3 separate regions of the Homo sapiens genome follow, and all the other regions are linked to region 3. Evidence: promoter capture Hi-C in 16 types of primary human blood cells and fetal thymus (Javierre and others, 2016). All regions are on one chromosome and are shown on one strand. Each heading gives the region's core, a stretch centred on a gene start or on the middle of the fragment in contact. The rest is flanking DNA. Distances are from core to core; before and after follow the strand shown.

Region 1 (4,234 bases), core at 1,473-3,972, 1.6 Mb after region 3:
AACTAACTGCAGGCAACTGCTGTGAAACAATTCCTTGAGCTACTGGTTCTACTCCTTGTGGCTGGGGAGGCACAGTTAACAAGGAACTTTGGGATGCAATAACCAATTGTTGAGGAAGGCTTGGAGCACTAGTTTGAACTCCCTGATGAATAATCCCAGTTTGAGCAGGTGGAACCACTTGCGAAGATGGAGGAGCACCCTGCTGAATAACTGAAGGTGGAACCTGGGTAGAGGGCTGCTGCACTGCAGTAGGTATGTTTGCTTGCTGACCAATATTTGCAATCTGACTGCCAGTAGGTACAGCAGACACTGCTGCCGGAGCCTGGCCAACAGGCTGGACAGATGCCCCTGCAGGTTGTGCTGGGACTGCTGTGGGCTGCACTGGCAGCTGGATACCCTGTGGCTGAGCCACAGGAATCACTGTTGTTCCTGCTCCTACTCCTGCAGAACTGGGCTGTCCGGAGGACATTGCTGTTTGAAGAATTGGCTGCTGTTGTACATACTCTGAAGCAGGATTTTGAGTCACTGATTTGACATGGCCTGGGGCCATCTGTGTAGAAACCATTGGTTGCTGTTGTCCATACTGTAACTGTTGGGGTGGTGGTGCCCCTGGAAGGGGAGTTTGCACTGGAGGAGCCGCCTGAGAATATGGTAGCTGGGGTTGAGCCAAACTGGAAATGGAAGGCTGCTGACCTAAAGCTGAAGTTACACCAACCACATTTACAGGCGATGGCTGGATACCAGTTGCAGCACTCATAGTGGCTTGCAGAGGTACTGGCTGAAGACCTTGCTTTTGCTGATAGCTCAGTTCTTGAGACTGTAATTGTACTTGTGAGATCTGTGACTGAGAAATACTCTGTGGTATACTAACTGCTGGAATACTCTGTGGACCAGTGCTACCAAAATCCATCTGTTGGAGGGTCACACCTTGGAGAGCTGGTTGTTGCTGTTGTTGTTGTTGTTGCTGCTGCTGCTGCTGCACCACCACAGTAGGGGCTCCCATCTCTCCACTTCCCACACTCTCTGTATAGTGACTCAGTGTGCTGACACTACTGCTCACTGAACTCCCACTAGTGCTCTCCCTTTCAGAAGTCACTTCTATCGGATTTTGCTTTACAGTCTCCACCACTTTATTTATCAGCACACCTTCTGTAGCAGGTACAGCATTTTCTTTTTCATAGAACTCAGTGCAAGTCCATCTACCTTTTTTAAAGGGCTCAGAACTAGAATCTAACTTCACAACTCTGAACCTCGAAGTGTTAACTGTTGGTTGTTGCTGCTGACTTGAAACCGATCCCCCAGTCATCCCTGCAGCTGCATTAGGAACACTGCTAACAGCAGCAGAGGAAGAAATAGTACCATTGCCCATGCCACTCAAGATATTCACATTAACACCACTGGTAACTCCAGGCCCAACACTCACACCAGCAGCACTAGGAATATTGCTTGTACTTATATTAACATTACCAAGCATGCTGCTTGTCACATTAGGATTAAAACTACCCACAGCAGTAATGTTAACATTATTTACTGTACTAGTGCCAGTAACAGAATTTATACCTATTCCACCTGTAGTACTTGGAGCACGCATATTAGTCATTACAGATGCAGGTGAACCACTGGATGATACAGCAGAAGTTGGTGCAACTGGTGTGATACTGTCAGAGCTTCCAGTTGTAGAGAGTTTTCTAGATACTGGGCTTGAGGGTGGCCCACCAGTAATGGATGCACTGGCCACAGCAACATGAGATGGATGGTGGTGACCATGTTGGAGGTGGTGCCCATGATGAATCTGATGGTGGTGATGGAGGTGGTGTGGATGAGCATTCCCATTGATCACAACATTCTGTTGTGGAAGGTGAGGCAAATGAGGCTGAGGAAGGTGGGGCTGGTTGGGAGAGACTGCCCCAGGTGTCTCGGCTTCCTGGAAGTTATTTAGGGTCTCTTCTGAGGAGCTGCGTTCGGGCTCCCCTAAGTCAGTAGCCCTGGAAAGTGACACATCAAGGATCTCCGAAGAAGAGAGATCTTCCGTGTGAGATTCATCCAGATCATCATAGCTCTCAGTGTCCTCTGCTATACTGTTGTTAGAGCTGATACTAGCGGAGATCTGAGCAGGAGTAACGCTAGTTATCTGGAAGCCACTTTTCTTTTTCATTTGAGTTCCGCCTGGCGCAAGAGGCTGTGCCTGCAGCTGAGCCTGCGAAAGGAGGTTCAGGCTTTGTGGAGGCGGAGGCTGTGGTCCCGACGTAGAAGATGCTGCAGGGGGCGGCGGCTGAAGCAGCGACGGAGGCGGAAAATCCTCGGAAGATGTGGCATTACTACCGACGCCGGTACCTGCTGCATTGAGAGCAGAGGCGCTGCCACTACCGCTGCCCCTTCGAGGGAACATTGCCGGGTGCGCCATCTTCCTAGCGCTAATGTCTGCAGCGGCGGCGGCCGCGGCGGTGGACTCAGGCGGCTGGTGCATTGTGTTGGGTACCGGGGGCGCGGAGGAGACGAGTGCAATTTCCTTCTGCACCGTAATCTTTGTATTGGAGACGCCGGAGAGGAAAACGGGACCTGACGCTCCGCCTGGCGCGATTCCTCCTTCTCCTCCTCCTCAGCCAAAGGCGCCGGTCGCTCCTGCCTTCGAGAGCGAGCTTCGGAAAGGAGGATGAACGAGGGTGAACAGGGCGGCCGGGGACCCGAAGGGGGGATCCCTTCAGTCCTTCGCCATTCACTTTCCCCTCTAGCCTCACACCCCCCTTTATATTCTGCTTCACGTGGGGTGCGGGGCAGGAGGGAGGGGGAGAGCGCAGGAAGGGGAGGAAAAGCGAGAAATGCCCACCTTCTCCGGCCAACTCCGAAGCCGCCTCAGCCCCCTCCTCCCGCCGCGTCGGCGGCCGCTGCAAAGCCCTCCCGGCCGCTCTGCACGGAGGCAGCGCCAAGCAAATGTCGCCTTCCCCTCGCCACCCCCGGGGCCGCCGCCGCCGCCAGCGAGCCCCGAGCTCAGTGTCGCTCAAACCTCCCCTCCCGGCCCCGCTCGGCCCTCCCCCCGCGCCCCGCAGACCCTTTCAAACCCCCTGGGCTCGCGGCGGCTGCTCGGTGAGGAAACGCTGGCCGCGGCTGGGGCCGGGGCGACGCGGCTGCGAGCGGGGCGGCGGCGAGGCGCCCGGTACGGTGAGCCCAGCAACGAGGCGCGGGCGGGCGCGCAGAGACGCCGGGTCCTCGCGGAGCACGGCCGGGGCGCGGCGGCGGCGGTGGCAGCGGGAGCCCAGGGACCGCTCCATCACTGGCAGCCATGGAGCCCGAGCATTTTCCTCCCTCAGGGCAGGCGCCTCGACTCGGCACACGTCCTCGGGGAGGAAGGGGCCGGCACCCGAGCCTCTCCGGAGGGCGGCGGGACGTGCGCTAGGGCGGAGGGTGCGACCCTCTCTTATCCTCTTCCTCCGCAGCCGGCTCTTCCTCACCCCGCTGCTCCCGCGACCGGGCGGGAGAGGGCCGCAGGCGGCGGCGGCTCCTTTCTCCGCGGCGTTGGTGGCCAGACGGGCTGGTGCAGCGACTGCAGCCGACGCCGTTCAAAGGAACGAGGTGGGGTTGGTCGGTGTCGGCAAACGGGGCGGGGGAGTGAGTGGGTGCCGAGGGAGGGTGTCGGGCGGGGAGGGGGCTGTGGTGGTTGTTACTAGTGCTCTTCTTCGGCTCCCCCGGCTCCACCGTATCCCCCAGTCTCTCGCGGCATCGGGAGGGGAGGGACCAGCGCGGAGCGCAGGAGGAGGAGGGGCGACCGCCGGCGAGAGGAGGCGGTGGTGGCTGGGGGGAGGGGGCAGGCGGAGGAGGAGGAGGGAAGATGGCGTCTGCGCATGCGCCTCGGCGCCGCAGACATAAAGCCGGGTCTGGCGGGGCAGGAGGCGGCGGGTCTTCGGGCCTAGGCGAGCGCCAGGTCTCCCGACGGAAATTACCGAAGGCTGGCAGAGGCGCCGAAGCCGGGAGTGGTGGAGCCGGAGGGGATAGTGGGGGTGGGGAATTCCGGCCGAAGGAGCGAATCCGGGTCGGACTGCGTGATTCGGCCCGGTGGGGGCGGGCAGGGTGCGCGCCTGCCGCGCGCCCAGGTTAGGTGTGTCCGCTCTTTTCACACTCGCGGCCGGCGCGCGCGGGCACGCGGCAGAGGAGGGGGCGCGGCGCGGAAGGGCCGGCGGAGGCGGCGGGAGCGCCGGCGCTTGGTGTGCGCGCCTTGGGTGGTGTCCCCCGCCTGCGG
Region 2 (4,038 bases), core at 1,528-4,027, 1.1 Mb before region 3:
GGCACCAAACGAATATATAGATAAACAAAACAAATACTCCAGGAGAAATAACAGCAGTATATAACTTAAATATATTATTTATGAACTTTGTTGTTCTTTTTTCAAACTATTAGGAAGCAATGTCAATTACAGAGAGAGGAGATAATCAGTTACTGGTCACATGTATGAATGCAGCTGAGAGCATCATCCCAACATAAGATGTAATCCATTATGGCCTATTGCTATTTGTAGTTTTACACTTGTCCATGTATGATCTCTGATTCAAAATGGGACACTTCCATCTTGATAGCCTTACTCTCAGGCCTCAGAGTAGCCAAAAGTGTGCTGTCCATTTACCTGGCTCACAACTGCTCTTACTCAAGTCCAGATCTCTGGTGGGTTCCCAGCTGCATTCAGTTACAGTTCTCACACCCTCAAAAAATACCTCTTTTTGGTCTGATCCTGCCAGAGTAAATGACTGATTTAAAGAAGATAGTATGTTCTCTGTAATATGTCCATGACTCTCACATTTGAAGCAAAGCCTATACTTTGATTTACTGGCTATAACAAAATTTGAGGACATTTACAACTTATCTACCAATACGTATATAATACAGACTTTAAAAACTCACACCCACATGTGTTTTTACAATCAACATGTATTATCCATGTACAAAGAACAATTGTTTTTTAAAAAGTTCAAGTCAATTCACTCGGCTAAATCTGCCTACCCAGATAGTCTGAACAGTCCTGAATCTAAACAAACTTGGTTTCATGTCTTCTAAAGGCAAGGAAACAGAATAATTCTCAAATAGCTAAAACTGTACATACTAAGAATAAAAAAGCTAACTTTTATTGAGCATTAATATGTGCCACAGATTATATTAATTAATAAATCCTCACAACAACCATAATAGATATATTCTTCTTATCCTTTTACAGTTAAGAAAACTAGGACACAAAGTTAAGTAACCTACCCTCAACGACCCATGGTTAGATAGTGGATAAGTGGATTCCAACCCAAATTGTTTAACTCCAAAACCCAACCTATAGTTTATGCTATACTTCCACCTTTGACCTCTGCCTTCTAGGGCAAAGGAGCAAAAAACAAATAAAGAACACACAAAAAATGTAAAAAACAAATGAATAAACAGCCCAGAAGTGAGAGTAATTGAGAAAAAGCAAAAAAAAAAAAAAAAACAAAAAGTAAAATTTGAAATTGCAACACTATGGTGGGGGACGGGGGTGGTGTATGTCTTCAATGAATAAAACGAAATACGTGGGACCTAAATATGCTTTTTTTTTTTTTTTTTTTGAGATGGAGTCTTGCTCTGTCGCCCAGGCCGGAGTGCAGTGGCTCCGGTCACTCCAAGCTCCGCCTCCCGGGTTCACGCCATTCTTCTGCCTCAGCCTCCGGAGTAGCTGGGATTACTGGCGCCCGCCACCACGCCCGGCTAATTTTTCTGTATTTTCTTTTTAGTAGACACGGGGGTTTCACCGTGTTAGCCAGGATGGTCTCGATCTCCTGACCCCGTGATCCGCCCGCCTCAGCCTCCCAAAGTGCTGGGATTACAGGCGTGAGCCACCGCGCCCGGCCCATATGCTCATTTCTTAGCAAGGAAAACTGGGGGTTGCGGGGAAAATGCAAGAGGACAACGAAACCTACAATTTCATAGTGAAAACCTGTTATTCCAAGCAGCACTGACATTGACAAAATCTTGTCTGGAATCACTTCACCATTCAAGGGTAGCAACAACAGATATCCTTTCCTTAACCATCACAGTAACTCTAACTCCACCAACACACAAGAAAAAGAATTCCTAAAACCAGCTCAAGTAGAGCCAAAAAATACTGAGCTTAGAAATCAAAGCATGTGATTCTAGCATAGTAATTAGTTGTGTGTTCTCCAGCGAATCACTTTTCCCTTCTGGGTTTCAATTACCTCATTTGTAGAGGCAAGTGTTTTAACTAAATTAAGGTGTAACTGTCAGCTCTAAGAATTACGTGAAACTTTAAGGAAAACTCCTGTAAAACTTGGAAAGGCTCGGGGATGCATTTAAAACACCGTGAACTATGGGTTCTTTGGCAAGAATGTTCCCTTCTAAGCCGCCACAAGCCCTGGCTAGAACATGACACAGACCGGCTTCCAGGCCCTTGAGGCTCAGAGAGCAAGGTCAAATCCAGCTTTCAATAATTCCATAGGGCTGAGGCATTAACCTCTACGAGTATTATAACCTAAGTCAGAATTCTGGGGGTAAAGGCAGCGGCAGGGGAAGGAGAAATCACTCTTCTAGGTCATCAGAAACCTTAGTCCAGACCCCTCGGGTTGCAGAATCAGGCACAGAGAGGGCGAGCGCCTTGCCCCCACGTTACACAGCAGTTAGCGCCGAGGTCGGGACTAGAACCTCAATCTTTCAGCTCCCCGCTCGGCAAACGGTCCTTCCAAGCGCAGCGAAGCAACAGAGAGGAGGGGCGGGGGCGCGCGGGGACCCGGCACGGAGCGCAGGGGCACCAGGGAGGACAGGGGCGCACCCCGAGTTACCTGTGTCGGCCCCCGAGCCGGCGTGCAACAGTCTGACCTCCGGCCGCTGCCTGTCGCCACCCGGCCTGCGCTGCACCACCTGCCGCAGGAGCAGCCGCATGCGCCGCGAGGCCGGGCCGCCGTGGCCTCCGGGTGCCCCGAGGAGTAGAAGCCGGGATTGCATGGCGCCGGGGGGGCTGTCGGGGACGGCGAGGGGGCTCGGGGATCGAGCGGCGTCCCGTGCAGGCACCGTGAGGCAGCGCGGAGAAGGGGACAGGAAGCGGCACCTAGCCGAGTCCGCCGGAAACTCCTTCCCCCGCGGCGCGGCCGGCTCAGTAGACTCAGCCCGGCCCTACCCGGCCCTGCATGGCCCAGACGGGCGGAAAGAGCCTGCGGAGCTCCAGCCCAAAGAGCCGGCACCGTCCCGGGACTGCCCGCACCGCGGGGGTGCTCCGAGCTGCGGCGCTGGGCTCTGGCAAGCGCCTCGCAGTCCGTGAGACTGTCTGTTCACCTGGATGCACCAGGCCTTCACCCGCCGTTTCCCTGCGATCCCACAGAATCTCAGGAGTTCAGTAAATGCCAAGGGTTTTAGGAGCATTTGTCGGTGTGACTCTTCAGATGCTTGCCCCAAGTCTTCGTTTCTTAGTTAAAGGCCCAGTAAGTATAGGGAGCTTTCCCTGTATTCGGCTTCAGATTTCGGAAATGGAGAAAACATGCACAAGATGATGGGAACTTTCACAACTGTCTTGATTCATTGTAACCACACTAGTGTTTCCAAACCGTACGTGAAAGCTTTACCCTTTGTCCTTTTGGTGGTGGTTGTTTGTTTCTGTGTTTTATTACCGCTTCCTAAATTCTAAGGAAAAAATTCACATCTTAGTGATAGATGGAAATTGCTTAAATATCAGAAAGGATCCAGATCAAGCACTTTTCTAGTCATGCTGTAATACAAAAGTTATATAAAGATGATTTATGTCTTTAGTAAAGGAAAAAGTAGGACACTGGCTAAGGCTGCCTCCCTCTTGTACATTCCAACATCGGAAATGGTCCTACCACAAAGCAAACTAAGCCTAATGTAATTAGACTGCATCCCCAAAATGTCACAGTGAATTGACTAAGGCAAAATATTTGAGACAAGTTATACAAGCAAACATCAAAAAGAAGGCAGAAGACCTCACTTTCAGCTAAAGACCTTGCTAATTCTAGAGCTGCCACTGTCTAAATACATAGCACCTACCCTGCGCCTGACCCTGTGATGAGTGCTGAGAAGAGAGTGTTAGAGTGGAGACTGTAAAAGTCAAACAAGGCTAGGTAAGGAAGGCTTTGGGCATCCAGCGGAAGAACTTGAGGAATGAAGGCTGAACCAGGCTTCTAACCTAGATGAGGAGACAGTGAAAATAAAGGTAATAAGTAGTTACACAATATATTATGACTTCGTTTCATGTGTATCTTCTCATTTAATCCTCATAGCAACCCTAAGACATAAATTTAGGATGTAAGCTTATAAAATGCTTTTCCTACTTTGAGCACATTGTATG
Region 3 (4,035 bases), core at 1,214-3,713:
TCAGATGTCTTCCTTATTCCTGTAACCACCCAATGGGTTTACTTTGCTGGCTGTCTAGACAGAGCCAAATTTATAAAGACGGGGTAATTGCAATAGAGAAAGAGTAATTCATGCAGAGCTGACTGTGCAGGAGACTGGAGTTTCATTATTACTCAAATCAGTCTCCCAGAGCATTCAGGGATCAGAATTTTTTATTTATTTATTTATTATTATTATTTTTTTGAGACGGAGTCTCACTCTGTCCTCAGGCTGGAGTGCAGTGGCGCGATCTCTGCTCACTGCAACCTCTGCCTCCCAGGTTCAAGCGATTCTCCTGCCTCAGCCTCCCGAGTAGCTGGGACTACAGGCACCCACCACGCCCAGCTAATTTTTGTATTTTTAGTAGAGATGGGATTTCACCATGTTGGCCAGGATGGTCTCACTCTCTTGACCTCATGATGCACCCACCTTCGGCCTCCCAAAGTGCTGGGATTACAGGCATGAGCCACCGCGCCCAGCTGGGGATCAGAATTTTTAAGGACAACTCGGTGAGTAGGGGGAAGCCAGTGAGCTGGGAGTGCTGATTGGTCAGGTCAAAGATGAAATCACAGGGAGTCCAAGTTGTCTTGCGTTATCAGTTCCTGGGTGGGGGCCACGAGATCAGATGAGCCAGTTTATCGATCTGGGTGATGCCAGCTGATTCATCAAGTGCGGGGTCTGCAAAATATCTCAAGCACTGGTGGTAGTTTTTACAATAGTGATGTTAGCTCCAGCAGCAATTTGGGGAGGGTCAGAATCTTGTAGCCTCCAGCTGCATGACTCCTAAGTCATAATTTCTGATCTTGTGGCTAATTTGTTAGTCCTACAAAGGCAGTCTAGTCCCCAGGCAAGAAGGAGGTTTGTTTTGGGAAAGGGCTTTTATCATCTTTGTTTCAAACTATAAACTATGAATTACATTCCTCCCAAAGTTAGTTTGGCCTACGGCCAGGAATGTACAAGACAGCTTGGAGGTTAGAAGCAAGATGGTGTTGATTAGGTCAGATCTCTTTCTCAGTTGTAATTTTGCAATGGCGGTTTAATTCCCAGTCCAGTTCTCTTTATACTGCTATGCAATGCATGTGCTCATGTTCTGGTATGTACTATTATTCTGTGTCAGTGTTATCTTCCCTACAAGATTGTAAATTTCTAGGACCTAACTTCTTAGACATGCTAATAATATTAACTAAGTGAACAAATTAATAGACCCTCAAAACTTTAAATTCAGGAATAGAAAAAAAATAAAGCTTTTTCTTCCTGTCAGCTGATTTTGCAAAGGGTATAAGGAGCCAAAGAGCTGCCACGTTGGTACAGAAGTTGGAAAACACCATACGCTTCAACTGCTGGTTAATTTTTGCTCTAAAAACTTGATGGAGGCCAGGCGCGGTGACTCACGCCTGTAATCTCAGCACTTTGGGAGGCTGAAGCGGGCGGATCACCTGAGGTCAGGAGTTTGAGACCAGCCTGGCCAACATGGTGAAACCTCGTCTCTACTAAAAATACACAAATTAGCCAGGTGTGGTGGCACGTGCCTTTAATCCCAGGTACTCGGGAGGCAGAGGGTGCAGTGAGCCAGAGATTGCGCCACTGCACTCAGCCTGGGCAACAGAGCGAGACTCCATCTCAAAAAAAAAAAAAAGCTTAATAATAAAATGGGCTTTTATATATACAAATCAGCACAAACTCATTTGAGGGAGAGTAAGATTTACCTACTTGCTCACAACTTTTTTTCCCCTGCCTCAGGCTCCTGAGTAGCTGGGATTACAGGGACGCACCACCACACCCAGCTAATCTTTGTATTTTTAGTAGAGACGAGGTTTCACCATGTCGGCCAAGCTGGTGTGATCCACCCGCCTCGGTCTCCCAAAGTGCTGGGATTACAGCGTGAGCCACCGCACCCGGCCACAACTTTCTTCTGTGTAATTTCACCTTAAATACAGCCATTTACTTGGGGGTGGAGTAAGCAAATTGCCTCTTTAATTTCTCTCCCGGGGTGGTAGAACTGTGGCATTAAACAGAAGTGCGAACAGAAGTTGAGAGTGGGAAGAAAGGCTGCCCGGAAGGGGGTCAGGAAAGCTCAGGCAAGCCCACCCTCAGGCACTACAGCTAGACTCCGAGCTTACTGGGCAGTCATCTGATTCGACCAACATCAGTTCGCAGGGCTTAAGCCCAGTCCCTTACGGCGGCCTGGGGAGGGACCAGGCCCAAGTATATAAAGCTCCCTGAGGGTCCGCGTTGGCTTTGCGCCTGTGAGTGTGATTCAAGAACGTCCCAGTGCCCTTGGCTCCTTTCGGAGTGTGACCCCGTGCTTGCACGGGACACGTTACCCAGCTCGGGTGAGAAGGGTATCTTCCGGGAACCTCGCCTTTAATAGCACAACGAGCGCAGAGTCCACTGGATCTGCGAGAAGAAACCGCGCTAACTAGTTTGTCCCTACGGCCGCCTCGTAGTCACTGCCGCGGCGCCTTGAGTCTCCGGGCCGCCTTGCCATGGCTGCCCGTGGTGTCATCGCTCCAGTTGGCGAGAGTTTGCGCTACGCTGAGTACTTGCAGCCCTCGGCCAAACGGCCAGACGCCGACGTCGACCAGCAGAGACTGGTGAGTCCTGCCAGCGGCCCCCACCCCTCTCTGGCTCCCTTGTAGTTTCTGCTTCAGCCCCCTCTACCGCCTCACCCTTGAACCTTTGTACTCCCCCGCATTCGCTCACGGTCTGTGCCCTAGCGCTCACTTGTTCAGTGGAGAGACCGCTTTGTGCTGGGCTTTGACGCCTGGGCGTGGAAGACGGAGCAGTTCTGAGGATCTGTCTCCTCAAGGAGCTTCCAGTCTTGTCTGGGACACAAACCAGAAAACAGGCAATTGCAAATACAGTAAAATAAGTGCTGTATGTGGATTTTCCTATCTCATAGGAGGCCCTAAAAACGTCTTGCAGGGGACGTGGTGGGATCAGGGACGCTTCTTGGAGAAAGCTGTAGTTAAAAATTAAGATCTGAATGAATAAAAACAGTCCATTCAGCAAGGAGAAGGGGAAAAAGTGTTTCGGGTACCAGGACTACTGTCTCCAAAGTCTCCGGCACAGAAACAGGGCCCAGTTGGAAACTCCAAGTGGTGTATTCAGGATGAACTGTAGAGCTGGAAAAAGGAAGGGTCTAACAGAAAACTGTCCAACAGAAGCATATTGTGAGCCACATACGTATTTTTACGTTTTTTTTTTTTTTTTTTTTTTTTGAGACGGAGTCTCGCTCTGTCGCCCAGGCTGGAGTGCAGTGGCGCGATCTCGGCTCACTGCAAGCTCCGCCTCCCGGTTTCAGGCCATTCTCCTGCCTCAGCCTCCCAAGTAGCTGGGACTACAGGCGCCTGCCACCACTCCCGGCTAATTTTTTGTATTTTTAGTAGAGACGGGGGTTTCACCGTGTTAGCCAGGATGGTCTCGATCTGCTTACCTCGTGATCCGCCCGCCTCGGCCTCCCAAAGTGCTGGGATTACAGGCGTGAGCCACCGCGTCCGGCATATTTTTAAGTTTTTTGTAGCCATATTAAACAACTGAAGAGAAACAGGTGGGTTTGATTTTAACCATGTATTTTCTTTAACCTGATATATGCACAGTTGCATGGTAATTTTCAACATTCAATATGAAATATTGCCCAAGTGGTGGTTTAGGCTTGTAATCCCAGCGCTTTAGGAAGCCCAGGCAGGAGGATCACTTGAGGCCATGAGTTTGGAGGACAGCCTGGGCAACACAGGAGACCCCATCTCTGCTAAAAAAAAAAAAAAAAAATTAGCTGGGTGTGGTGGTGTGAGCCTGTAGTCCTAGCTGCTTGGGAGGCTGGGTCGGGAGAATCACTTGAGCCCAGGAGTTGAGGTTATAGTGAGCTATGATTTCGCCACTGCACTCCAGCCTGAGAGACAGAGCTAGACCCTGTCTCCAACAAAGAAAAAAAAATGAGGCAGTAGAGATTTAGAAAGTTTTAAGTAACTGGTCCAGGATCATCCCTGGTAAGTGGCAGATCTACGATTCCAAATG

The links. The method cuts DNA at HindIII sites, captures the fragments that hold promoters and counts their contacts. A CHiCAGO score of 5 or more calls a contact.
Region 1: a contact is called between the fragment with the promoter of TSC22D1 here and the fragment with the promoter of DNAJC15 in region 3, in 11 of 17 cell types (non-activated CD4 T cells, monocytes, total CD4 T cells and 8 more). The highest score is 11.8, in non-activated CD4 T cells.
Region 2: a contact is called between the fragment with the promoter of VWA8 here and the fragment with the promoter of DNAJC15 in region 3, in 2 of 17 cell types (activated CD4 T cells and fetal thymus). The highest score is 6.8, in activated CD4 T cells.

What each region holds. Positions count from the first base shown.
Region 1 is chr13:44,573,608-44,577,841 of GRCh38, forward strand. It overlaps TSC22D1 (TSC22 domain family member 1), which reads right to left and starts at 2,723. Exons shown (of 3, transcript NM_183422.4): 1 at 1-2,723. The coding sequence starts at 2,467. TSC22D1-AS1 (TSC22D1 antisense RNA 1) reads left to right here and starts at 2,289. Exons shown (of 3, transcript NR_038381.1): 1 at 2,289-2,663; 2 at 3,435-3,570. RefSeq lists an enhancer at 2,196-2,435 and silencers at 2,756-3,465, 3,476-3,715, 3,986-4,185. The HindIII fragment of the contact is 6,017 bases long and covers 1-4,234 here.
Region 2 is chr13:41,958,332-41,962,369 of GRCh38, forward strand. It overlaps VWA8 (von Willebrand factor A domain containing 8), which reads right to left and starts at 2,778. Exons shown (of 45, transcript NM_015058.2): 1 at 2,522-2,778. The coding sequence starts at 2,684. VWA8-AS1 (VWA8 antisense RNA 1) reads left to right here and starts at 2,838. Exons shown (of 4, transcript NR_039974.1): 1 at 2,838-3,903. RefSeq lists enhancers at 1,011-1,511, 1,512-2,012, 2,108-2,247 and a silencer at 2,448-2,857. The HindIII fragment of the contact is 5,183 bases long and covers 1-3,290 here.
Region 3 is chr13:43,021,123-43,025,157 of GRCh38, forward strand. DNAJC15 (DnaJ heat shock protein family (Hsp40) member C15) reads left to right here and starts at 2,464. Exons shown (of 6, transcript NM_013238.3): 1 at 2,464-2,612. The coding sequence starts at 2,505. RefSeq lists enhancers at 2,283-2,342, 2,353-2,402, 2,913-2,962. The HindIII fragment of the contact is 4,162 bases long and covers 1,654-4,035 here.